Regions from separate parts of the Homo sapiens genome. Here all the other regions are linked to region 7. The links are contacts of gene promoters, found by promoter capture Hi-C in blood cells and fetal thymus (Javierre and others, 2016). All regions are on one chromosome and are shown on one strand. The core of a region is centred on a gene start or on the middle of the fragment in contact, and the rest is flanking DNA. Distances in the headings are between cores, read along the strand shown.

The links. Contacts are between HindIII fragments. The CHiCAGO score rates a contact against its expected background, and 5 or more counts as called.
Region 1: a fragment that was not itself captured here is called in contact with the fragment with the promoter of DEFB136 in region 7 in 2 of 17 cell types (total B cells and naive B cells); the score reaches 6.3 in total B cells.
Region 2: a contact is called between a fragment that was not itself captured here and the fragment with the promoter of DEFB136 in region 7, in 1 of 17 cell types (naive CD4 T cells). The highest score is 5.2, in naive CD4 T cells.
Region 3: a contact is called between the fragment with the promoter of SLC35G5 here and the fragment with the promoter of DEFB136 in region 7, in 2 of 17 cell types (naive B cells and total B cells). The highest score is 7.4, in naive B cells.
Region 4: a contact is called between a fragment that was not itself captured here and the fragment with the promoter of DEFB136 in region 7, in 1 of 17 cell types (total B cells). The highest score is 9.4, in total B cells.
Region 5: a fragment that was not itself captured here is called in contact with the fragment with the promoter of DEFB136 in region 7 in 12 of 17 cell types (non-activated CD4 T cells, total B cells, naive B cells and 9 more); the score reaches 12.7 in non-activated CD4 T cells.
Region 6: a contact is called between a fragment that was not itself captured here and the fragment with the promoter of DEFB136 in region 7, in 1 of 17 cell types (naive B cells). The highest score is 5.7, in naive B cells.

What each region holds. Positions count from the first base shown.
Region 1 is chr8:11,392,172-11,395,951 of GRCh38, reverse strand. All of the region lies in intron 2 of FAM167A-AS1 (FAM167A antisense RNA 1), which reads right to left. It also overlaps the pseudogene RNU6-1084P. Among named protein-coding and RNA genes, the nearest start is that of FAM167A-AS1, 26 kb to the right of the region's middle. The HindIII fragment of the contact is 1,960 bases long and covers 844-2,803 here.
Region 2 is chr8:11,428,004-11,431,668 of GRCh38, reverse strand. The region is part of intron 2 of FAM167A (family with sequence similarity 167 member A); the gene reads left to right. All of the region lies in intron 3 of FAM167A-AS1 (FAM167A antisense RNA 1), which reads right to left. Among named protein-coding and RNA genes, the nearest start is that of FAM167A, 37 kb to the left of the region's middle. The HindIII fragment of the contact is 1,455 bases long and covers 939-2,393 here.
Region 3 is chr8:11,328,791-11,332,658 of GRCh38, reverse strand. It overlaps SLC35G5 (solute carrier family 35 member G5), which reads right to left and starts at 1,647. Exons shown (of 1, transcript NM_054028.2): 1 at 299-1,647. The coding sequence starts at 1,552. The coding sequence ends at 536. It also overlaps a transcript of MTMR9 not described here. The HindIII fragment of the contact is 5,485 bases long and covers 1-3,868 here.
Region 4 is chr8:11,358,063-11,361,722 of GRCh38, reverse strand. It overlaps the pseudogene TDH. Among named protein-coding and RNA genes, the nearest start is that of FAM167A-AS1, 8.5 kb to the left of the region's middle. The HindIII fragment of the contact is 4,642 bases long and covers 1-3,660 here.
Region 5 is chr8:11,410,573-11,414,438 of GRCh38, reverse strand. All of the region lies in intron 3 of FAM167A-AS1 (FAM167A antisense RNA 1), which reads right to left. Among named protein-coding and RNA genes, the nearest start is that of FAM167A-AS1, 44 kb to the right of the region's middle. RefSeq lists an enhancer at 2,645-2,939. The HindIII fragment of the contact is 4,489 bases long and covers 1-3,728 here.
Region 6 is chr8:11,448,587-11,452,182 of GRCh38, reverse strand. All of the region lies in intron 1 of FAM167A (family with sequence similarity 167 member A), which reads left to right. Among named protein-coding and RNA genes, the nearest start is that of FAM167A, 16 kb to the left of the region's middle. RefSeq lists an enhancer at 1-475. The HindIII fragment of the contact is 204 bases long and covers 1,835-2,038 here.
Region 7 is chr8:11,972,323-11,975,975 of GRCh38, reverse strand. DEFB136 (defensin beta 136) reads left to right here and starts at 1,377. Exons shown (of 2, transcript NM_001033018.2): 1 at 1,377-1,431; 2 at 1,858-2,039. The coding sequence starts at 1,377. The coding sequence ends at 2,039. The HindIII fragment of the contact is 18,049 bases long and covers 1-3,653 here.

The DNA of each region.
Region 1 (3,780 bases), core at 574-3,073, 580 kb after region 7:
TCTGTATTTGTCTTTACAATTTTTTGTCATTTTGGTATTGTTTTATAGTGATCTGTGATTCTCTTCAAACAAATGTCCTAAACCTTTCAACGTCTTTAACAACTTCCGAACCAAATCAAATTATAAATTAAATGTTTTTGACCTCAAACTAATTTTGGAACATTTCAGAAGGCCTCTGGAAAGTTCCATAGGATTTGTCTCTCACCTTGTAAAAAAGAGCGATTAAACTAATTAGGCTTACAGGATATGTTAAATTATATGAGAAACATCATCAAATAATAGGTGATGCTAAACCTTTATGTTATGTTTGTGGATATGATATTGATACAAGTGTTCCAGAAATTATACATAATTCCTAGAAATCTGATATGTCCTAGTATAATGCTATCAGTCATAATTTTAGTTATTGTATTAAAATGCAATATGCCACAGAAATAACCACATTTCTTTGACAATTTCATCATTATGATGGTGAACTCTCATCAAATCTTTAACCATGGCCATTGAATGTCTTTTTTCATCCACAGGCAGTTATTGTTTTACTTTGATTCTTCTCTGAAAGCATTTGTAATCAGCTACAGCCCAAAATTGCTTCTTCAAGGAGATTCATAAAAAAGGCTCTACTCTGCAATAAAGGTTTCTGATAACTTTAAGATCACACCATTGGATGGGGTACAAATTTCTAGAACTCTTATGAAGAAACTGGTGGTTTCATGAAACTGCTAACCAAGATCAAGAATATCAACTACATGAGACTACATGAAATGAAGGGGATAATTTTTATGACTTTTATTTGAAACGTTTCTTCTTTAAATATTTTGTTTTCCAGATTTAAGGAAAGCTTTTTTTCTTTTAAGCTACCTATAACTTACAGCAATTTAGTATATCGTTAACAAAATTAGAACATTTCGTTTTTTTTCTTCCTCCCTGATCCCTCCAGAATTTAGAAACTATTTATGAGTACTCTTATTTTTATGACAATTGTAGTTACTTGCACAAGTTTAGTAAGTATATTCTCCTTGAAACAGGACAAAAGTGGAAACACTGATTATATGACCAAGGCTTTGACTGGAATATTATATTTTCAGACATGACCAGACAGTTTTAAGGAACTAAAACCAGTAAAGTTTATTTACTTTACTGGAACCAGTAAAGCCCCCATTGGAAAAACTGGCCTGGCTTAAAAGAGTTTCTAACCTTACAAGTGAGTAAGTAATGTCACTTTCTGACAGGCCCAGGAACTGTAGAATATTTGGGGGATCCTGAGAAGAAAGGAATTCACCCAGATCTGTAGGTATTGCAGGCAAAGTCTGATGGCAAGTTAGTGGCCTGGCTTCTGGCCTCAAGAGGCTATTAAAAGTCTAACTTGAGGTTCCTTATCAAAAGTTCCAGTAAAGCAAATTTTGAAAAAGCCTATATAGTCAATCACTATTGTTGCGGCACTTGCACAAATAATCATTACTTTTGCAAACATTACTTTGCGAACAAATTAGTCTTACTTTGATAATCTTTGGTAGAAATGGAAATGACTATAGAAAGAAAAATATTTCAGAAGAAAACTATATGCACTCGTTATTAGATTCCAGCTCATTGTTTTTGAGGTTTTTGTTACTCACCTACAATCTGGACTGGATCCTGAATTCTTCTCGTTTCCAGAAATGTCTGGCTACAGGTCTCCAAACTAATATTTTTCTCCCACCCTTCTGGTTTGGAATCACTGAAATGAGAACTGCTCTATTCCTGAAGCCCTGCGAACGAAAACTGGATGACTTGACACAAGCCGTAGAGAAAGCACAGCAACTTATGTATGCGTGGTCCTCACGCCTGCTGCTATATGGACTACTCAGAAACGCCCCTGGAACACCTGATGCAAACTGTAAAGTGGGGAAACCTGTCAAACTGCCACGGCCTGCTCCCACCCCAGCTGAAGATGCTTTCAGCCAAAACCCAGAAATCTTCTCACCTGGCTGCTTTCTGAGCTTAAAAACCGAGTTTCTAGTTTATTCTAATTACTAACATTGGTTTTTCTTTTGTTCTCATAGAAATGCCTCTCGTGAAATACTCGCGCCATATGGATGTCTAACTTTGGTGGCAGCCCACCTGTAACACTGCTGCCCGAAATAAGATGCAACTGTTGACAGTTTAGCTAGACTGACTGATGCTTGGGACTCAGAGACAGGTTCGGTGGTGTAGGAGACAATCCACCGACCCAACTTCTAGATTGTTAAACTTGTCATGGAGCGGAAATACAAATCTAGTGTTTGATTTGCTCAGATATGCACTTTTAAAGCTCTGAAAAGATGCATGAGAAACTAGAATAAAGTTTACCTAGGGAGGTGTGGGAACAGGGCAGATGGAGGCCAAGGGTGAAAGTGATATTGGTCACATATCCTTTATTAGAAGTTCTAATTCTCTGTAAACAGGTCTCAGAAATTCCCAGCTGCTTATGGAAAAGCAGAAATGTCTCGTTCCAAAGGCTGTATAATGGCCTTGTGAACTTCTTGGAATGATAACTCTTCTGGCTGGCTTTACCTTGACCTGTCCTTGACCAGTGACTTGTTTTCTGTCTTATCTCACTTGGAACTTGGCACAAGTCCTCAGGCCACCCAGTATAGCAGTGGACTTGAGGGCTGTGAGCTAGCGTAGCTGGGAGCCTTCTCTCTGGGAGTAATTCCGTCTTCCCCTCGGCTCCCATCGCCTTAAAGGACACTCCTCAGTGACCCAGCACTAGCAAGTCCCCAGACCTGCCTGCCAAGGTCCTCTTTGTCTAATCGGAGGAATCAAGGGCGCCCTCTCCCAAGCTTTAGCTGAACGACGGACTCTCCTGACACTGTCAGGGAGAAGTGAGGGGAAGGCATGGTGAGGAGGGACTCTTGGGGAGCAGAGCAGGCTTCCTCTTCACCTCAGAGTACCTGCTCTGTGTCTCTCCTCCCACGTTCCCTGCCCAGCAGGGTGACCTCAATCCCCGAGTCCATTCTCTCCCTGTCCACCGTCCAGGCTGGCCCTCCAGCCCTGCCGCCCACCCCTGTGGCCAAGCCTCCCCCTTAGCACCTGCAGAAACAGCGCTAGTGCTGTCAGGCTCCAACACGCCTGGGTTTCATTCTCGCTCTACTGCCCACTAGCTGTGTGGCCCTGGGGGAGCCATGTGGCCCACCTGCATCCTGGTGTCCTCATATATAAAATAGGAAAAAGCATGCCCACCTCACAGGACAGGTGCAAAGCTTAAAGTCAATGGTGCGCCTGTGCTGCCTCCTGCAAGATTTGTAGATGCTTCTGCGTGCTGGCAAGGTTCTGCTTCTTAAGCTAGTTAGGGGCTACACAGGACTTTGCCTTACAACTATTTGTGAAACTGTCCATTTTTGTTTTATGCACTTTCTATATGTATGTTTCATTATACCATTTCTTTAAAAAACACTTATAAAAAAGCAAATCTGGTGCTCGCTTTGGCAGCACATATACTAAAATTGGCACGATACAGAGAAGATTAGCATGGCACCTGCACAAGGATGACATGTAAATTCATGAAGTGTTTCTTTCTTTCTTATTTTTTTTTTAAAGCAAACCTGTAGAAGAAAATGTTAGATGCTGAAAAACATTTAGTTATTCAGGCTGGGGACGGTGGCTCATGCCTGTAATCCCAGTACTCTAAGAGGCCAATGCAGGTGGATCACCTGAGGTCAGGAGTTCGAGACCAGCCTGGCCAACATGGTGAAACCGCCTCTCTACTAAAAATACAAAAATTAGCCAGGTGCGGTGGCACATGCCTATAATCCCAGCTAC
Region 2 (3,665 bases), core at 417-2,916, 540 kb after region 7:
GCCCAGGACTAAGGAGGTCCCCTGGATGCAGTATTCTCAGTGCTAGAACCAGGTAGGTCCTGGGCAAACTGGATTGAACTGATTGCTCTAAATTTGCAGACTCTGCTGTTGTTGTTTAAATGTCAGTAAAATATGTATAATATAAAATGTACCATTTTATATGTACAGTTCACTAAATATATTCACATTGCTGTGCAGCCGTCACCACCATCCATCTCGAGAACTTCATCCTCCCAAATGGAAACTCTGTGCTCACTAAACGCTAACTCCCCATCCCCTCTCCCCAGCCCTTGGCACCACTGTCCTGCTTTCCATCACTATGAATTGGACTACGCTAGGAACCTCTTCTAAGTGGAATCCTACGGTATTTGGCCTTTAGTGTCTGGCTAATTCACTTAGCATAATGTCCTCAAGATTCATCCATGTTATGGCATGTGCCAGGATTGTCTTCCTTTTCAAGGCTGAATAATATTCCACTTTATGGATAGGCCACATTGTGTGGATCCATTCATCTGTGGAGGGCACTGGGTTGGTTCCGCCTATTGGTGATTGTGAACGTGGATGTACAAATCCAGGTTCTAGCTTTTGCCTTCATTTGTTTGGGGTGTGTACCTGGAGTGGCATTGCCATGTCATATGGTAATTCTGTTTAACTTTCCGGGACCCGCCATGCTGTTTCCCACACCTTTCTTAAGGCTTTTGTTTTATTCCACCCAGCTCCGAGGGTAGGAGTCAGCTCTTCTGACTCCCCAGGAAAATCCCCAGGTCCAGAGAGACCCCCCAGCAAACCACTGGCTTGATGCATTAGACTTTTCTATGATCTGAATGTCCTCGGCTGACCTTCCCCTTGCGTTTTTCCTCTCTGGGTCCTTCTTCCAGGGCCGCCTTGGCCGTCTCCTCCAGCCCCCTTGCCACACCCTCCCCTCACCACGTAAAGCTTGGAAGTAAGGAAATCTCTGTCCTCTTCCAGACCCATTTAATTACCATCTTTAGTGACTTAATCCTGCTCTTGGGGGTTTGCCTTCTACCTTGAGAAACAACCTGGCTCTCTCTCTTGCTCTCTTTCTTTAATTGGTGTTTAAAATTTTTCAAAATGACTTCATTGAGATAAACTTTACATACCATACAGTTCACCTATTTGAAATAGCAATTCAGTGGTTTTTAGTGTTTTCAGAGTTGTGCAACCATCATCACGTATAATTTTAGAACATTTCAACACTTCACCCAGGTGCAGTGGCTCACATCTTAACGAGCATTCTTGTCTGCCCCCAAAAAAACAAACATCTGTAGTACAGATCACAAGCACAGCTGTTTCAAAGGGGCCACGTGTGGCTGCCGCCCTTCCCTTCTTCCAAGCCTGGTGGGGACACCCTGTCACCACAGTGCTTGGACAGCCCCCGACCAATGACATCTCTTCCCTTTCAACAAGTTCTGTGCCCTAATTATGGGGTTGCTGGGATTACAGGCTGCACCTCTGAGAATTCAGCAAGTGCTTTTGTTCTCAGAGAGACACCAGGCCACGCTGGGAGCGGGGACTGGAAATTGGCACATCCTATGGTAGAGCCTTTGCCAGAGACAGCATGAAACCCACACTGAGAGTTGAGTCACCCTGGCCAGCTTTTCAGGCTTTTAATGAGGGCTTAAAACTGGGAGGTCCTTGCTGGGTTCCATGTTCTGTGCCTTGGCCTGGAGAGAAAGGACTTAAGTGATGGTGCACCTCTTACTTTGATTTGGCCAGCGTAGTTCATATTTTCTGCCATGCTATTTGTTGTCGAATTTCATTCTCACTGTCCTTAGAAGAGATGAGAAGAGGCCTTATCTCTTTTCTGTAGATGAGGACACAGAAGTTCCAGGTGGCAGTGACTTGCCACCCAACGAGTGAGGAGTGGAGCTCAGCTTGAACCTGGGTTCTAACCCAGGGCTGTGGATTTTCCCTTTCTGCCACCCCTGGGCCCAGCTCGCCTCTGAGCAGACAGGAGCCTGGGAGAGTCTTCCAGCTCTGGGTGCTGACAGGCCCGAGTGTGGTCCAGATGCCATAGGCTGGCTGGCCATGAGCCGTTCCTTTACTTCTCTGAGACAGTTTCCTTGTAAGACAGACTAAAATCACACCTGCCATCTAGAGTTGTGGGAAAACATGATGAAACAATCTATGTCAAACGTGTGCGGCTGCAGCCGGGGCTGTGTTGTCATCCCCGCCTCCAGGGGGCCCCTTGGCAGAGCTTGAAGGGAAAACAGGAGGAGGCACTCCAGTCCCAGCTCAGACCTGCTCTCCTGAACTGGCGCAGCCCTCTGTGCCTTCCCGGGCAACCGCCGTCCTCCCGACTAACTCCACACAGGACCAGCAAAGACATATCTTCATTGCAAATCTCTAAAAAGATTAATTTATAAAAAGCTTCTTAGCCATCAGAAACCAGAGGACATTATGCTAAGTGAAATTAGCCACTCACAAAGGACAAATACTGTGTGATTCTACTTCTGTGAGGTTCTTAGAGTAGTCATACAGACAGAAAGTAGAAGGGTGGGTGCCAGGGGCTGGAGGAGGGGGATGGGGAGTTAGTGTTTGATGGATGCAGTTTCTGTTTAGAACGATAAAAAGAGCTCTGGAGATGGATGGTGGTTGCGCGACAACGTGAATGTACTTAATTGCCACCGAGCTGTACACTTAAAAATGGTTAAGATGATAACTTCTATGTTGTATGGATTTTATCACAACTAGAAAAAAATTCTAGAAACAAATTAAGCCTCTTATTCTTGCACATTTTGCTCAGATTTCTTCAGAGTCTGTGGGAACTCGTGTGGATTTGGTTCAATTACAGCAGAGTGACCTCCTAATCGGGGCTCAAGTTAGTGTTTAAGGTGCAAAGTCACCTTTGCAAAATGTCTGTGTGGCCCAGGGAGCAGCCGAGCATGGGCCCAGCACAGCCAGGGCTCCCGCATCACGGGGACAAACCCTGTTCTTTGGGGCAGGAGATGAATTTGTTGATTTGTGTGCAGGGATCCCAACACACTATGTATTGTGAGCATCTAAATGTGAGAACCCATAGTGCATCCTAGCGAGATGCTCACGCTGTGAGATGCCCTCAGAACCAAAGCCCACTGAGGAAGTTGCAATTCCCAGCCCCCTCCTCATGTTCTCTCAGAGCGCAAGCAGGGAGACCGGCCGGAATCACCATCCCTGTTGAAGCTGCAGCTTTCTTTCTCTTTTCACCCTTACGCAGAATTGAATGCATGTGCACAGCATGGGCGTGCGAGGCAACGCCATCCAGGCGGCCTTTGTCCAGTCCATGGAAACTGACACAGGCCTTACTGTCAGCCCTCTTTCTAGCTGCCTCTGATGGGTCTTAAAGAGTAAATTGTTCTCTGACCTTTGACCAGATCTGTCAGCCACAGAAAAACAGCCCCTTCCTTCCTGCTACCCCACAGAGATGTGTCCGCCACAGCCTGCGTCTCACAGATAGTCTTAGACACCTGGCCACACCCCAAATTCCCCGACTTCAAAGGATCTTTTCACACCAAAGATGCAATTCCTGGGGCCAAAGCTCAAATCTTAAACCATAGGGTTCCTAGTTTTTCAAAAAGATCTATTGTCAAATTACAGAACACTCCAAAGAGAAGTGACAGATGACTGTACTAAGGCAATGGGTGTTCGCAGACAATATCTTTCAG
Region 3 (3,868 bases), core at 398-2,897, 640 kb after region 7:
CTGCACTCCAGCCTGTGTGACAGAGCAAGATTCTGTCTCAGAAAAAAAAAAGCAAAAAACAAAAAACAAACAAACTCTATCGAACCCTTCTAGTGAATTTCTCATCTCAGTTGTCGCACGTTTCAGCTACAAAATTTCTACCTGGTTCCTTTCTATAATTTTTATATTTTTATTGATATTCTCATTTTGTTCAAACATCATTTCTCTGATTTCATTTAGTTGTCTTTTAACTCTTGTGCATATTTAAGACAATTGTTTAGTCTTTGTCTAGTAAGTCCAAAGTCTGGGATTCCTTAAGGATAGTTCAATTAATTTTATTCCTGTAAATAAGCCAGATTTCTCATTTGTTTGCATGCTTTGTGATATTTTTATTATAACTGAACATCTCAATATTATAATGTGCTATGGAAGTTAGACTTTCACTCTTTCCTAGGATTTATTATAATTATTTTTTTTCTTTTATTTTTTTTTTGTCTTCAGTCTTTGTCTTTATTTATCCCTGTCCCTCCCAACCCCCGGGCTCCCAAGTTCTATCTCACTCCTCCACCTTCCCTGTCCTCTCACAGCTGAGGTTCCGGGCTGTAATGATGGCAATGCTGCCCAGCACAACCCCTGCCCCCATGATGTCAGAAAGTGCCACAGTCTCATGGAGCATATAATACTGCAGTATAAGGGCCACAACCACCTCGGAATGCAGGACAGCGCACACCAGGGCAGGGTGGGCCTTGGTGACCGCATAGCCCACACATGTGAAGGAGACCAAGGCGAGGATCCCCTCTGCCCCCACACAACTCCAACTCAGGAGGTCACTGGGCAACACGGGGGTCTGCAGCACAAAGAGGCCTGGCACACAGCCCAGCAGCCCCACCAAGCCAGATAGGAAGGCCACTGTTGGGAGGCAGGAGGGAAAGTGCAGAGAACGATAGACCAGAAGCCCCAGGGACAGCGCCAGGCCTCCCAGGAAAGCCTGCACATAGCCCAGGGTGGTGTAGACACCTGTGGTCCCCTCCTGTAGTGTCCAGAGTCCAGGTCCCAGAATGATGATTAGTCCTAGGATGCTGCCCAACAGTCCACACCACTCGTAGCCACCGAGACCCTGGCTCTCAAGGCAGAGGGTGAGGACAGCGGAGCATACGGTGGAAGAACCTTTGCGAACAGTGGCAGCGTTGCCAGCGGGCACCACCTGAACTGCACTGTAGGCACATCCAATGCTGAGGACGTTGAGCAGGGCACAGAAGCAGGCCCAGCCTCGGATGTCAGGAGGTCCCAGAAGGGGGTCGCCACGCAGTTTAAGTAGCAGGGCAATAGGGAGGTGGAAGAGGCATCGACAGATGAGCAGCTCCAGCGAGGGCAGGTTGGAACCCTGGTAAGCCATACGAGAAAGGGGGCCCACGAAGCCAGCAGGCAGGCCCCCACCCAGCAGGGCCACCAGCAGGCCATTGGTGGCACCAGAGGGCTGGCAGCGCTGGTGCCAGCGGAGGCTGGGTGGAGCGGAGGGCGGCGATGGGTGTGTGGAGTCAGGCAGGTTGAAGTAGGGGTGACTGCCAGCCATCTTTCCTTGGACTTTCTCCTCTCCTCCTGGCTCAGGGAGCCTGGGCCCCTCAGAGCTCCAGCCATTGTGACCTCATTGGAGTGCGGGTGGGGTTCTTCCCTGGAACTCTCCTGAGGTGGTAGCACGCCTATTTTCCCGCTGAGTCCAACTCTGCTTCTTTTCTTTCTTTCTTTCTTTCTTTTTTTTTTTTTTAATTGATCATTCTTGGGTGTTTCTCGCAGAGGGGGATTTGGCAGGGTCATAGGACAATAGTGGAGGGAAGGTCAGCAGATAAACAAGTGAACAAAGGTCTCTGGTTTTCCTAGGCAGAGGACCCTGCGGCCTTCCGCAGTGTTTGTGTCCCTGGGTACTTGAGATTAGGGAGTGGTGATGACTCTTAACGAGCATGCTGTCTTCAAGTATCTGTTTAACAAAGCACATCTTGCACCGCCCTTAATCCATTTAACCCTGAGTGGACACAGCACATGCCCCAGAGAGCACAGGGCTGGGGTCAAGGTCACAGATCAACAGTATCCCAAGGCAGAAGAACCCCTCCCAGTACAGAACAAAATGAAGTCTCCCATGTCTACTTCTTTCTACACAGACACAGCAACAATCTGATTTCTCTATCTTTTCCCCACCTTTCCCCCTTTTCTATTCCACAAAACCGCCATCGTCATCATGGCCCGTTCTCAATGAGCTGTTGGGTACACCTCCCAGACGGGGTGGTGGCCGGGCAGAGGGGCTCCTCACTTCCCAGAAGGGGCAGCCGGGCAGAGGCGCCCCCCACCTCCCTCCCAGACGGGGCAGCTGGCCGGGTGGGGGCTGACCCCCCACCTCCCTCCCGGACAGGGCGGCTGGCCGGTGGGGGGCTGACCCTCCACCTCCCTCCCGGACGGGGCGGCTGGCCAGGCCGCGGCTGACCCCCCACCTCCCTCCCGGACGGGGCGGCTGGCCGGGCGGGGGCTGATCCCCGACCTCCCTCCCGGACGGGGCTGCTGGCCGGGCGGGGGCTGACCTCCCACCTCCCTCCCGGATGGGGCGGCTGCCAGGCGGAGACGCTCCTCACTTCCCAGACGGGGCGGCTGCCGGGCGGGGTGCTCCTCACTTCCCAGACGGGGCAGCTGCCAGGCGGAGGGGCTCCTCACTTCTCAGACAGGGCGGCCGGGCAGAGACGCTTCTCACCTCCCAGACGGGGTCGCAGCCGGGCAGAGGCGCTCCCCACATCTCAGATGATGGGCAGCTGGGCAGAGACGCTCCTCACTTCCTAGACGGGATGGCGGCCAGGAAGAGGCGCTCCTCACTTCCCAGACTGGGCAGCCGGGCAGAGGGGCTCCTCACATCCCAGACGATGGGTGGCCAGGCGGAGACGCTCCTCCCTTCCCAGACGGGGTGGCGGCCGGGCAGAGGCTGCAATCTCAGCACTTTGGGAGGCCAAGGCAGGCGGCTGGGAGGTGGAGGTTGTAGCGAGCCGAGATCACGCCACTGCACTCCAGCCTGGGCAACATTGAGCACTGAGTGAACCAGACTCCGTCTACAATCCCGGCACCTCAGGAGGCCGAGGCTGGCGGATCACTCGCGGTTAGGAGCTGGATACCAGCCCGGCCAACACAGCGAAACCCTGTCTCCACCAAAAAAATACGAAAACCAGTCAGGCGTGGCGGCGCGAGCCTGCAATGGCAGGCACTCGGCAGGCTGAGGCAGGAGAATCAGGCAGGGAGGTTGCAGTGAGCCGAGATGGCAGCAGTACAGTCCAGCTTTGGCTCGGCATCAGAGGGAGACCATGGAAAGAGAGGGAGAGGGAACTCCTGGGCTCAAGTGATCTTCCCACTCCAGCTTCTGAGTAGCAAGGACTGCAGATGAGCACCATCATGCCTGGCTAATTTTTTTATTTTTTGTAAAGACAGGATCTTGTTATGTTTCCCATGCTGGTCTCGAACTCCTGGCCCTATGTGATCCTCCTGCCTCAGCCTTCCAGTGATTAACACAGACATATACACCAATGGAACACAATAGAGTGCACAGAAATGAATATGCATATGGTCAAATAATCTTCAACAAAGATACCAAGACCACACAATGGGAAAAGGACAGTCTCTTCAACAAAGTGTTGGGAAAAACTGAATATCCATATGCAAATAATGAAATTGGGCCCTTACCTTACACGGTATACAAAAATTAATACAGAATGGATTAAGATCTAAATGTAAGATTTTAAACTATAAAACTCCTAAGACTGCTTTTTCCCTCCAACAGTGGTGCTGTTTCTGGATGGATCATATCAGAAGGCACATGATGTTGATATGTCCCATTACTAATGATGTTAACTTTTCCTGA
Region 4 (3,660 bases), core at 408-2,907, 610 kb after region 7:
GGAGAGGTGGGTCCAAAAGCCCCAATCGTGCTAGGCACAAACAATTGCAGATTGTGTTCCGCAGCGACATCCAGGATGTTATGCAGGCCTGAAATGAACAGACACTATCAGAATCTGAAAACATCTCTTCTTAAAGAACTAGAAAAACTGGCAAATAAATCACATCCAGCCAGAGCCAGATGCTTACCAGTTATATTCACTGCTCTCGCCAGGGAAACATTTGCTTCTCCAAAGGCGCTGAGCAAAGCGCTGTAATGAAACAGCCAGGTGATGCGGTTGTTTACCACGATCTCCCGAAGATTCTTGTAATCCAAGATATCAGAATAAATGAATGGACCTGCAAGGAACATAAATTGAAACCACGAACGTGAAAAGGGTTGTGAACTAAATGGACCTTTCCCCTTTCCCCCGTTGACTTGTGAATTTCACTGGTAGCCACGCAATAACTAAGACAGCTGGGCACTAGGCAGCATTTTTCTTACGGAAGAATCACAAGTCACAACCACCCCGCGCCAGGTAATGACAGCAAATGCTCCTATAGGACCTGCCTGGGCCAGACCCTGTCCTAAGGACATAAGTCCATTTCTTTCCCACACAGCCTTGGAGGTAAACACATTTTACTGATAAGGAAACAGGCACCGAGAGGTTAAGCAACTTGCCAGGATCAGAGAACAAGTGGAGGAAATGGGGCTGCAGCTAGGCATCGGGCTCCAGAGTGGGTGCTGTTCCTCCCAGCCCTGTATACACAGAGTGGCTTCACTCTGCTTCCAAGGTGCACATTTGAAAAGGAATAGAGAAACGGACTTATTCACCACCACCACCACCTTGGTATAGAAAACCCACAAACCATGAGTTTATCATACTTAATTACACAGAGGTAAAGTTGATCTTGCTCTGTGCCAATTTTCCCCACTTACAGCAAACTGTCACTCTTCCCCATGGTGAGCAGCAAAAGGCTGATGCTGAACCAGGAAGGACTGGGGGCATTACAAAACCTTATTTTTGGGGCAGCGGGGACAGAGTCTTGCTCTGTCGCTCAGGCTGGAGTGCAGTGATGCAATCATGGCTCACTGCAGCCTCCATCTAGTGGGCTCAAGTGGTCCTCCCAAGTAGCTAGGACTACAGGCACGTGCCACCATGCCCAGCTCATTTTTAATTTCTTGTGGAGACAGGGTCTCACTATATTGCCCAGGCTAGTCTTGAACTCCCAGACTCAAGTGATCCTCCCACCTCAGCCTCCCAAATTGCTGGGATTACAGGTGTGAGCCACCATGCCTAGACATAAAAACATTTTTGAAGCAGTAAAATCCTGATTAGAAGAGCTTGAGAGGTGTGTGTGTGTGTCTGTGTGGATGTGTGTGTATGTGTATGTGCGTGTGTGTGCGTGTATGTGTATGTGTGTGTGCGTGTATGTGTGTGCATGTGTGTATGTGTGTGTATGTGTGTCTGTGTGTGTGCGTGTGTGGGTATGTGTGTGCGTGTGTCTGTGTATGTGTGTATGTGCATGTGTGTATGTGTGTATGTGCGTGTATGTGTGTATGTGCGTGTATGTGTGTGTGAGTGTCTATGTGTGTGTGTGTGTATGTGTCTTTTCGTTTCTATTCTTGATTTTTGTTTGTATTCTCTCCAAGTCAATAAGTTAACTTAAAACACAAAAAGACAGGAAACAAAGTTTTCATTTCCAATAACATCAAAATATATTATTCCAAAAACTTCAAGGTCAAAAGAATTCTTCTGTTCTTTTATCACTTGAACAAGCAGCAGCATTAAAAATATATATTTTTTTATTATACTTTAAGTTTTAGGGTACATGTGTAAAATGTGCAGGTTTGTTACATATGTATACATGTGCCATGCTGGTGTGCTGCACCCATTAACTAGTCATTTAACATTAGGTGTGTCTCCTAATGCTATCCCTCCCCCCTCCCCCACCCCACAACAGGCCCCAGTGTGTGATGTTCCCCTTCCTGTGTCCATGTGTTCTCAATGTTCAATTCCCACCTATGAGTGAGAACATGCGGTGTTTGGTTTTTCGTCCTTGCGATACTTTGCTCAGAATGATGGTTTCCAGCTTCATCCATGTCCCTACAAAGGACATGAACTCACCATTTTTTATGGCTGCATAGTATTTCATGGTGTATATGTGCCAAATTTTCTTAATCCAGTCTATCATTGTTGGACATTTGGGTTGGTTCCAAGTCTTTGCTATTGTGAATAGTGCCGCAATAAACATACGTGTGCATGTGTCTTTATAGCAGCATGATTTATAATCCTTTGGGTAAAATACGTATTTTTAAGTGAAATACCAGTGCCTCAATAACTTCTCTTTGAGTCATAAATTCAGCTATGAGCTGCTGCACGCACCAATTTCACGAGCCACCTCTTTGTGCCTTGAAAATTAGAGATAAAAATAAAAGCAAGACCTATTGATCTCTTACCACTGTGAAAGACATGATCGGGGGGTTTCCTTATGTCAGACAAAATCACACTGTCCTTTCCAAATCGTTTCCTAAAGGGAAAATTAACCCACACAAGTTGGCAACATCTAGAATGCAATGAGTCCTGTGAGAAGTCTTTTAAAATAAGAACTGTAATTTTCTGCCAGCCTCCAAATCTCTACTTCCTCTTCATCCTCAATTCCCACACCTTCAATTCTTATCTCTCTCACACTCAGGCCTCTATTTCCCTGCCCACGACTCTCTCTTCTGTTTCTCCTCTCACCTGACTGTTAACCCTATGCTTGTCACCGGTTTCTTCCCATTACCCCCCAGAGTTTTTACCTCTTCCTCATCATTCTTCTTATCTTCTCTCCCCTCTTCTTATTCTCTTACCCCATTCTCTCCAAATCCCACACTCTTCCCTTCCAGTTTGCACCTGTACTTCCCTTGGTTCTCAAACAACTAAAAGTCAAAGTGATTCACTGGGAGATGTGTGTCTCACTTTGCCTAAGTTAGGAAACAGAAAGAGAGCAAAGGACCAGTCTGGAGATGTTAAGTCAAGGGCCTACGACAAGTCTGGGATATTCAGAGGCAAAATAAAATGTATTTTAGGCTGGGCACAGTAGCTCACATCTGTAATCCCAGCACTTTGGAAAGGTGAGGTGGGCAGATCACTTGAGGCGGGCAGATCACTTGAGGCCAGGAGTTAGAAGACCAGCCTGGGCAACATAGCGAGAGCCCATCTCTACCAAAAATAAAAAAAATTAGCCAGGCGTGGTGGTATGTGCCTGTAGTCCCAGCTACTCGGGAGGCTGAGGCAGGAGAATCACTTGAACCCAGGAGGTGGAGGTTATAGTGAGCCGGGATTGCACCACTGCACTACAGCCTGGGTGACAGACTGAGGCTCCAACTCAAAAAAAAAAAATCTGTATCTATATCTATATCTCTATATATCTATATCTATAGCTATATATAGCAGTTATTTAGATATATCTTAACAATGGTAAGGAGCAAGAGGAGAGAGAAAAGAAGTTTAAAAGGCATCCCAATGAGCTCCATATACTTAACAACTCAGATTTTAAATTTCAAGTTTTTAGGGCTCTTACCTCAAAAGATTAGCAAGCCCCACTCCCAGCTGGCCAAGAGCCCCTAGATGAAGAAGAAAAAAAAGTGAAGGTTTAATGCAAATCTAAACAGTTCAATTATTCCCAGAATGTAATAA
Region 5 (3,866 bases), core at 235-2,734, 560 kb after region 7:
CAGTGGCTCCCGCCTGTAATCCCAGCAATTTGGGAGGCCGAGGTGGGAGGATCACTTGAGCCCAGGAGTTCTAGACCAGCCTGGGCAACATGGTGAGACCCTATCTCTACAAAAAGTAGAAAAAATAGCTACCCACATGCCCAGCTACTCAGGAGGCTGAGATGAGAGGATCACCTGAACCTGGGGAGGTCGAGGCTGCAGTGAGCCACGATCACGCCACTGCACTTCAGCCTGGGCCACAGAATGAAACCTTGTCACATGCACGCAAAAAGACGAGAACTTCTATTAATGTTTTAAACCTCTTCTTTTCTGCTTTCAATGTGCTCTAAATATGTATAATATATGGGTACAGACATGTATATTATATAAATCTGTTGGGGAATGCACAAACATTTTCACAGATGGAGGGCAAGTCAGACAAGAGTGAGGCCCGGCCTTTGCCTGCGCCACATTGGATTCACCCCATATCCAAGCCTCAGGCTGTGCCAAACTGGATGAGGGACGATGCTTCCTCATGCGAGGTGGCACGGGCACAGCCTCTGCCCAGTGTCCTACTGCCCCTGTGTGGCCACATATGGCGTCTGCACACACCTGAGTCGCTGGGTAAAAGGCACCATATTTCTGCCAATCTGCTCTGGGCTCTGTTCCCCTTGACAGACCTGTCACAGGACAAACCCCTAAACCGGGTTCAGCCTGGGAGGCCACATGGGTTCTTGGCTTTGCACAGGAAGAAATTCAAGAGTGAGCCGACAGAGTCAAGTGAAAGCAAATGTATTAGGAAAGGAAAGGAATAAAAGAGTGGCTACTCCATAGGCAGAGCAGCCCGGGACTGCTGGTTGGCTATTTCTTTATTGATCATATGCTGAAGAAGGAGTGGATCATTCATGAGTTTTCGAGGAGAGGGGCAGGGAATTCTCGTAACTGAGGGTTCCTCCCCCTTTCAGGCCATATAGGGTAGCTTCCAGGCATTGCCACAGCACTTGTGAACTGTCATGGCGCTGGTGGGAGTGTCCTTTTAGCAGCTAATGCATTATAATTAGCGTATAATGAGCAGTGAGGACGACCAGAGGTTGCCTTTGTTCCCATCTTGGTTTTGCTAGATTTTGATCGGCTTCTTGACCACATCTCATTTTATCAGCAGGGTCTTTGTGATCTGTACCCTGCAAAACAAGCCCTCCCCAACTCCTATCTCAAACCCACAATGAAGCCCATGTCAGAAGCACCAGGGGTAGAAAACAGAAGGTGGGGAGAGAGAGGGGGAGGAAGAGAGGAAGCAAGAGAGAGAGGAAGGGAGAGAGAGAAATGGGGAGAAGGCCAAGAAAGAGAGAAGGTGCAAGAAACAGTGAAACGCAGGAGGTTATTTTTAAGATGGGATATGGTCACCAAATGCAAGCACATGAACCAGCCTTCCTTTCCTGCACTGCCCCCATCTCCCCTTTTCAGAATGTTCTGGTCAAGTCTAAGAACAGGGCCTAGAAATCACAGCTTCTGAGTTTGAGGCTCAGGGGCAGGAGCAGATGCAAGACCCAGCAGCCCTGCAGAAGGCCCCAGTCCCTGACGCCCCATTCCACCACCCAGAGTGGCCTGCCATCACCCATTGTCCATGTGAGCCCAGAGCTAGCTCCAGCCAGGCGGGCGACTGCAGTCCCCTCTCATCTCTGGGCGGGCCCCTGGCAGGTCACCTCCACACAGCACAGCCCTTCAGGGGGCCCAAAGCAGGAAGGCAGGAGGCCCTACTGCCCACTTTCTGCAGGGGACAGAAGGACAGCGGGGTCACCTCCTGGATCCTGGCTCCCATCCAGCCACCTTGCTCTGCAAAGCTGCCTACGTGCTCTCTCTCTCTTTCTGTCTCAGAAAAGACACAGCTGATGGAACCATCATGAAAATGTTGCAGGGCACCCTGAGATGCAGAACTTGATTTCTTTTAAGCAAGAGAATTTGTGTTTAAAAGACTCCAGCCCCTTCTATTTCTAGCAGACGAGACAGTGAGTCTTCCTGAGACAGACGCCAGCATGGCCCCTTTCAGTGAGTGAGAGGAAAGGCAAGTCAGGACTCCTCTTCTTCTGCCGGAGCCAGACCCTCCACTCCCCACTGAGATTGCTAGGGAGGGATGGACAAGTGATTGTATTGGGGCCAAGAAGCCTTCCAGAAGAAAGGGCTCCTGGCTCCTTCCCAGATGAACGCTACTGAAGCATCTCTAACTGCCGGAACGCTGTGATCCCAGACAGGCCAGACTGTGGGACGTGGGTGAGCCCCATCACAGGGGCCATGACACTGGGAACCCAGGCCATGGAGGGGTGACATCCTCCACTTCAAGGGGCAGAGCAGACCTGTGAGGGGCAGCCCCAGGGACAAGCGAGTCTTGGTGAAAAAGGGAGAGGAGAAAGGTTTGTCGTGATGAAATGCGGCTCAGAATTATATCGCATAAAGTATTAGGAGAGGCATGACCTTATGTCGCCCCCGAGCTGCTGGGACACATGACTTAGAGCACGTGTCTCTTAGAGCATCTGGCTCTGCTGTCAGAGCCAGAGGGCTTCAGCAATCAGGGGGGTCTCCTCCTATGACAAGAAGCAGGTCCAGGCGCTGGAGTGGTCGGAACTGTTCATTCGCTCTGCCCTGCAGTGCCTCCTCCACCTACTCCCTGTCAGAGCCACAGTAGAGGAGGTCTGAGAACACATATCTGTCCTGGTCTTGCCCTTCTGCCTCTTAAACAAACGGTTTTTTCACTTTTATCCTGCGGACCCATGGTGTTAAGGAAATCCTAACGCGCCCCCTGCCGGAGACACGGAGATCTCTTTAGAGGTGCATTCTGAGAAACAGTTTGAAAAACGCCCGTGATAGTTGCTTGTGTTCTTGGCATTTGCAATTGCTGTCACTTGCCATGTTTGCTGGAAAATTAAAAGTTCAGATGCTGTTTTCTGCTCAAACCCAAAACCTATGGTTGGAGTGCTCTGTCACAATTCGATTAAATTCTACAAGTACTTTTTAGCATCTAGTACGTGCCAAGCCCGGTATCTGCTCTGGGAAACACAATGACTAGATGCTGAAAATGCATAGAGCGCTTTGGTTTTGCTCATGACATTTAAGCTGAAGTTCATGTTTTATCTTCCTCTGCAACCCAATTCTCTCTCTTTTTTTTTTTTTTTTTTTTTTTTTTTTTTTTTTTTTGACAGAGTCTCACTCTGCTGCCCAGGCTGGAGTGCAGTGGTGCGATCTCAACTCACTGCAACCTCCGCCTCCCGGGTTCAAGCCATTCTCCTGCCTCAGCCTCCCGAGTAGCTGGGATTACAGGCACCCACCACAACACCTGGCTAATTTTTTTTTGTATTTTCAGTAGAGATGGGGTTTCACCATGTTGGCCAGGCTGGTCTTGAACTCCTGACCTCAGGTGATTCACCCGCCTCGGCCTCCCAAAGTGCTGGGATTACAGGCGTGAGCACTGTGCCCAGCCTGGAACCCACTTCTTTATAAAGAAAATAAATAGCCATTATTAGCCTATTAAATTTCTTAATCTGTTACTTTGGGGCTTTCCTTCTAATTTTGAAAAGCTACGGTTCCTAAATAATGTAGCCATTTCCCCCATTACAACTGAAAAGCAAGAAACCCTTACATCTTTCTATCATTTGTTTTCATATATTAAAACCCCCCAGACTTCAGATTTCACCCTCTTGGCTTCACCCCCTTTCAAAGCTCTGGCTTTGGTCTTTATCAGCTTGCAGCTAAAAGCTTGGCTGTCTCTCCAAGAGGGACAACTGTCTGGGACCATTACCAAATGTTCCGGTTTGCCTCTTCAGTCTTCCTGGTGCCCATCTCTGTTGCTGCCTTTCTTCCCATGAATCAGAAGCAAACAGATTACAATCACAAAA
Region 6 (3,596 bases), core at 687-3,186, 520 kb after region 7:
GACTCAGTAAGATTTCATTAGGAGGACAGTGACCATCCACCCTGTGGTTCTCAATGGGAGGTCGCACAGCACCCCCTCCCTGCCCCCCACCACCAAGGGACACGTGGAATGGTGGCAGAGGGAGCCTTTTGGATTGTCATGACATTTTATGACACTGGTTTGCTCTCAGTTGTATATTTTCCTCACCAAATGAGTTGTGCTTCCTGTCTCATTTCAGTTACAGCTCTTGGTTGTGAGCAAGAGAAAATGACATTATTGTAAGGCTGTCAGGTGCCCACAGAATTGGCAGGAGGTAAAGACCAGAAAACAGGCAGAACCAGGGCAGATCCAGAAGGCAGAGGCAGGAGATCCCGGGCCAGTCCTTCAGCAGAGACAATTTGGCTAAGAGGATGCCACCGCCCCTGCACTTCACATTTGCCTCCAGGGTTGGTTCACAGATGCGCCCTAACCATCCCTTCCTCTGAGACTCACACGCACCCAATTCAGAGTCGGGGCCTGAACAGCTGACTGGCCAAGCTCAGGTCACATGCTCACACCTGGTCACCAGGGCATGAGCTGGGAAGAGGAGCACGTGGTCCTCTGGTTGCAGAGAAGGCTGCACGGCCTGCCTGCTGTTCTGCACAAAATGGGGAGCTCCCTCCACACAGGAAAGGAGAGGGTGTTGGATATGGCAAACAGACACACAGTCCAACGAAAGACAAATAGCAGCAAGCATCCACTGTGCTCTTTAATATTCCTTCTCCAGTGCGTGCTGTGTCAGTCACTTACGAATGTCAGAAACCCCATCTCCAAGTAGCTGAAGCAAAAAAGGCGGAAGGTATACGCTGTGTAACCTGGGCAGGGCGGGTGGCTTCCCACGGGGCCCAGCTGCGGGCCCCCAGCTCCTTGCCACTGGGCTGTGATGGCCAAGCTGCCACACTGTCGGCTTGGCTTTGCTCTCCAGTTAGACCCTTTCCCCACATGTGCTGAGCATGGTGGCCCCAGCGGCCCCGGCCAGCTCAGAGCAAGGCTGGCCTCTGAGTGGTTCTGACACCAAAACTTCATCCTGTGTCTCCCCACGCCCCAGGAGAAAGGAAACCCCAGGGATGGGCTCCTGTGGGAAAGGGGGATGCACTTTCCAGAAGAGGGAGGAAGCTGCTGGATGGAAATGACCTCATCCTGCACTGGACTCCAAGGAGGCCCTCAAGCTAGGTCTGTCACATCAGACTGTCCCCTCCAACTCCAGCACATAGTCCTGGGATTTGGGATGAGCTGCAGCTGTTCCTGTCTTTGTCCCACTGCAGGCCCAGAGCCTGCACACCTATGTCTGGACACTTGTGGTCAGGGCAGGCAGGGTGGGTGGCATCCGTGGGGACAGGAGGGGAGGCACCATCCCAGGAAGCCTGGGTGTCTTTTTCTGCCTCTCTGAGCCCATCCAGGCTGGCTCAGATTTGAGCAAGGACAGGTCGCTGTGAGTGGGAGGAAATCTGTTTTATTGGCTCATTCATTCCACAGCATTTAAAGAGAGCAGCATTGTGCTAAGTACTGGAGGGTCCAGCATAAAAGGCTTGGTTCTCGTCCTGAAGTTGAGAGTCTGCTAGAGGCGACCATTGACAAAGGCCCTGGGTGTAAGTGCTGTGGCTTAAGAGGGGCAGTAAGCCCAGTGGTTAGGGGCCAGCTCAGAGCTAGACTGCAGAGGTTCAAATCCCAGCTTCACCACTTATAAGCTCTGTGGCTTCAGGCAAGGTCCCGAACCTGTCTATGCCTCAGTCTCTTCATCTGTAAAATGGGGATGATGATACCCCAGATTCATAGGGCTGTTGTGAGGATTAAATGTGTTAATACATGTAAAGCTTTTAGCACCACAGCTCGTGTGGTGTGCTGTAAGCATTAGCTAATGTTGCGATGACATAATTGTTTCTCTGATGTGCTCGGGTTGTCCTGGGTACACACAGCCCAGCCTGGGCAAATCAAGCAAAACTTCCCCCAGGAGAAAATCCCTGAGAACTGAACTAAGGCACAGAAGGGAGTGAAGGGCTTTCCAGGCTGGAGGAAAGCTTGTGCCGAGTCAGGGGTGTGAAAGAGCATGGTGTCCGGCGGGACAGGAGTGCTGGGTCGGGGTTGGAAAGATTGTGTCTTATGGAGAAGAAACGAAAGGGTTCTAGTGGAGAATGCGAGGCTGGAAGGAACAGCAGGAGCGCGTGGTGAGAGGAGGTGTGGAGGGGATGGGTCAGCAGTGCCTGCGTCTTCCCCTGCCCTTGGGAGCCCATCGAGGAAGTGGATGTGACCGTTTTCCAGGTGAACAGATTAGGTCATAATGAGACAAGGTGTTGGCTGAGCTGCCCCCACCTGGCTCCTCCAGCAGCCAGAGGAGTTAGCTCATGGTTGGCGAAGGCTCCTCCAAGGAGCCGCTGTGGGCCTGGGAGCCAGGGAGCTTGTTGGAACAGCAGTCTCTGTGTGTGGCATGGGTCCTCGGCACTGGCACACAGAGCTGCAGAAAGGCTGACGCGCCCCCCCAAGGGCTTGTCCCCACTGCTGCTGGGTGGCCTGCCTGGCGGGGCGTGCCTGGGCCTGGTGGGATTACAGGGTCTGATGTCGTTTTTCTAGACACCCTAGGTCCCAGGTCTGGCAGCGTCCTTTGGCTTCCTTCTCCGGCCCCTCCACCCCTAGGAACGACCCAGGTTACATGTAAAGAAAGCCCGTTTGTTTAGAGTGTTGGGGGGCTCTTCCTCCCGGGGCCTGGGCCCCAGGAGTCCCTGGTTTGTCAAGCGAGGGGAGGCCTCCACTGCTTTTCCAGCCCAGGAAGCTGCCCAGTGCTGGCATCTGTTCCCCGGCACCCGGCCAGCACCTCTCTGCCGGCTCAGGCCGGGTCCAGCTCAGTGCCCAGTGAGCAGTGACAAGCTTTTCTGCTGTCACGTCCCTGCGCCTGTGTGGGTGACATTCCAGCTGAGCTCCTGTGCCTAGTGGGAGGGAAGAAACCCCTTTGGGCTTGTTCAGGCACCAGGGCACCCAGGGGGACAGTGCTCCCCAAACACTGACGACCAGGAAAACACATGCTGCTTGAGCAACTCCTCGCGGTCTGACTGTGCTGGGGGCAATCCCATTCCTGCAGCAGCTCCTCACCATCTGGCTGTGCTGGGGGCAATCCCGTTCCTGCCAGCTACGGGTGACCACCTGCTCTAAAATAGTGACTCCCCAACTCAGGCCTCTCCACATTGCACACACGCCTATTCAGGTGGGTACAGCTCTTTACAGTTTAAAGAGAGCTCTCACATACCAGGTTCCATAGATCCTCAGCCATTGCACAGATTAGGGAACTGAGGCCACGAGGAAAGGACTGAGCCTGGGTGCTCGGCTTGTCAGCAGTGCTGGGACCAGAAACCAGGCTTCTGGGGCCTGGCCTTGGTCTGCCATGCAGAGAGCACAGGGTGGAGTCTCTCCAACACCCCGAGCCGTGGGCGGGGCATTCACAATGTGAGCAGAGAGGGAAGGGAGCAGGCATGGAATGGTTTTAGTAAGTGGAGCTGTTCTCTCCCTTCTATGGCAGAACAGACTCCACTAAGTTTTGAGACCTGAAAATCTGGGGGAGGTGGGATCAACTGACTTCGTGTCGTTTG
Region 7 (3,653 bases), core at 128-2,627:
GCCTGGCCAACGTGGCAAAACCCCATCTCTACTAAAAATACAAAAATTAGCCAGGTGTGGTGGTGGGCACCTGTAGTCCCAGCTACTTCGGAGGCTGAGGCAGGAGAATCGTTCGAACCCAGGAGATGGAGGTTGCAGTAAGCCGAGTTTGGGCCATTGCACTCCAGCCTGGGTGATGAGCAAGACTGTCTCAAAAAACAATAATAATAATAATATTGAGTACCTACTGTATGGCAGTGTGCGTGCAAAGCATTTTATAAGCTGTATCTCATTTCATCCTGAAAAAAAACCACGCATAACCTTCCAATGCACTTTTTGAGGAGTTCTTGAGGCTGAGATGCTAAATAATGCATCTGAGGGTCTAGGCCTGCAAAGCAGAGTGTACCCAGGAATACCATGCTCCACTGACACACCACACACAGCCCTGTGGTTGTTGGCTGCCTGCGTAAAAGCCTGCCTTAAGGGTCAGAACAAAATCAAAGTTAGTGTCATCTTCACCCTCAGACATCCCTCATCACCCCAAGAGAGACAGGCCTAAGGGCCCTTCTCCAGGGCTGAGTCTCTGTCACTCCAGAGAAGCCCTGTCTGGCTCCACTCTGGACACTGTGCATCCAACCTTGAACACAGCACTGAACCGACTCTTCTAAGGGAGAGTTTCAACTCCTCAACTCCAAAAAAGAAATCTCTCCTAGAACCTTCAGAGTCCCCTCATCCTAGCCAACGTTTCATACCAGCCATTTGGAGAACAAAGTCCATCAGTGAACTTTTCCAGGACTTTTTTTTTTTTTTTTTTTTGCAGTATCTGCCTTCAGCCAGGTAAATAAGTCAGCTGCTAGACAAGGAAGCTGTCCCTTCTCCACTAGTTCTGAGCCCCTACCTTCTCTTGGTCAGGCCACTGGTTGACAATTTGAGAGACTCCGTGTGTCGGAACTGTCTTTCCAGGCTTAAATTCAGCCTGTGTTTCATAACACCCTTTCTCTGCGCTCCTGAGCTTTCAGTGGTGCTCCAGAGGAAAGGAGAGACAGAGCAGACATTTTCACTGCCATGTTTATATCAAAGTACATTTGAAGGCAGAGGGAAAGCGCTCAGGCCTAGGCATGGGGATCCTGGTCTTTTCTCCTATTCTGCTATCAGGAAACGTGACAGCCTTAGCTGAGTCTCTGGTTTTCCCGCGGTTTGTAGAAAAGGAGGTAGCACTGAAAGGCCAGGGCCTTTTCTTCCTCGAATTCTGCAGAACCCTGTGATCTCCTCAGTCTGCCCCTCCAGGAAGAGTGAGGCCAGGGTCCAGCCCCACCCATCGCAGCCCAGCCCAGCTCTATAAAGGAGCCTCCCAGGCAGACACCACTGGGAGTTCCAACTCTGTGCCCTCTTCGGCCATGAACCTCTGTCTTTCTGCATTACTCTTTTTCCTGGTGATCTTACTGCCTTCAGGTAAGACAGTGGGCGTGAGTCTGAACATAAAAGTGGGTGTTCCCAAAGATTGAGATGCTTAAAAAACCCTCTAACTATAAGCCCAGCAACAGGACACCAATATCAAATGGGCCACCATGTTAGGGGCATGGTGAGCGGACCCCAGCTCCTGCCCTGCTCTGCTGTTGCTGCAGCTGGAAGATCTGCCAGTGCACCGGGGACGGGGGTGGATGTCATTGTGCACACAGATCGTGCAGCCACCCAGATTCCTATCTCCCCTCCAATGCCTCTGGCTACCCTGAGCTTTATCTGCCTTGCTGAGTTGTGATAAGAGGTGAGGTAAATCACAACTAACAAGCCATCAACCAGGAGGTGATGGCAAGCCTAGGATTTCTCCCAGCCTCATTAAGATTGATTTTTCTTTTCTGTGGTCTCTCCCCGCTTCAGGAAAAGGTATGTTTGGGAATGATGGAGTCAAAGTTCGCACCTGCACTAGCCAGAAAGCCGTATGTTTCTTCGGGTGTCCGCCAGGATACAGGTGGATTGCGTTCTGCCACAATATTCTGTCTTGCTGTAAAAATATGACACGTTTTCAACCCCCGCAAGCCAAAGATCCATGGGTTCATTAAAAGGATATGTGAATGGCTCAAAGTACTACACTCCTAATCTGTGTGTCAGGATCTTAGAGCTCGTAAGTGAGCCATGGGCAGAAATGAGGACCACATTCTGACAATTTACTGGCAAAATTCCAGAAACATTTTGTAAAGGCAGCACTGCCATGAAATGCATCCCCTGTTATTTTTCCTACCCTCCCATCTCCAATCACTCATTCCTCTTTCAAATTCAAATTCAGGCCAGGCGCAGTGGCTCACGCCTGCCCGCCTGTAATCCCAACACTTTGGGAGGCTAAGGTGAGCAGATCACTTGAGGTCAGGAGTTTGTGACCAGCCTGGCCAACATGGTGAAACCTCATCTCTACTAAAAATACAAAAATCTTCCGGGTGTGGTGGGTGCATGTAATCCTAGCTACTCAGGAGGCTGAGGCAGGAGAATTGCTTGAACCCGGGAGACGGAGGTTGCATTGAAAAGAGATCACGACACTGCACTCCAGCCTGGACAACAGAGTGAGATTCCGTCTCAAAAAATAATAATAAAAATTCAAATTCTATTGATTAATACAAGTTCACAGGCCCAAGCAATGATATATTCTGGCCATAGAAACAAAAGCTAACCACACACCAGTCACACACTTGAGTGGTTTACATCTATTAGGGAAATTACTCCACACAATAAAATCTACAATTTCTCCCATTTGGCAGATGAAGAATATTTTCCAAGGTCACACGACAAGAGTTAGTCCCAGGTTTAAATCCACAGAGTCTGCACGCAGTGTCTTGAGTGTAAAGTTGCACCACCTCTCCATTAGTAAGCATGGGAATCAAGCTAGATTGTGGTTCCAGTGAGGAGGCAAGAATCCAACTAGACCCCCCGAATGGCAAGACCCTCAATGCTCATCCTGTGGTTTAAAGCCATCATGCTTCTGGTTGCCAAGTTGCTTTCATGGCTCTGTACTCAGTGGCTTTCACGAGTCCCGATCGGTTTCACCCTAAAATCCCACACACCGAACATGCTACTTTCACCAGTGCGGTGACACACTGGACCCTACACCCATTCCAAACCTGCAGCTGTCTGAAGGCAGCACTGTCCAAGAGCACGTCCTCACCATCCACTCCAGGGTTCCCACCTGGAGGCAGAGGCCTCGGGTCTGCATTGAGACCCTCCTCATTCTCTACTAAGAAAACAGAAGGGCAGCTGAGTTTTGGATCTCCCTTCTCCACAAACATGCCTAGCAGGCACACTCTGAACCTCTGCACCAAACGCTAAGCAGGGGTGAGCCGACTGCTCAGAGCCCAGCCTCAACATCGATCACCCAAATTCCAGCAAAGAAGAAAAATCAGAGATCATCATGGTCCATGAGGCGAGCCTCCGAGGGTATCATGCTTCAGCTGATCCCTTCGGGTCTGTGAGTGTGTCTACAGTGGTCCTGTGGCATCAGACCACCTGCACGTGCTCATTTCAAACCACCCCCTTATCAAAAAAAAAAAAAAAAACAGGGAAGGACATTGCAAAAGTTCACAAAAGAATATCAATGCAATGAAATTAACATAAAAATAGAAAATAAAAGAGAAAACTGGGCGAAGGGAAAAAGCAGATATTCTTTCACCAGATGTCAAAAGGATCTA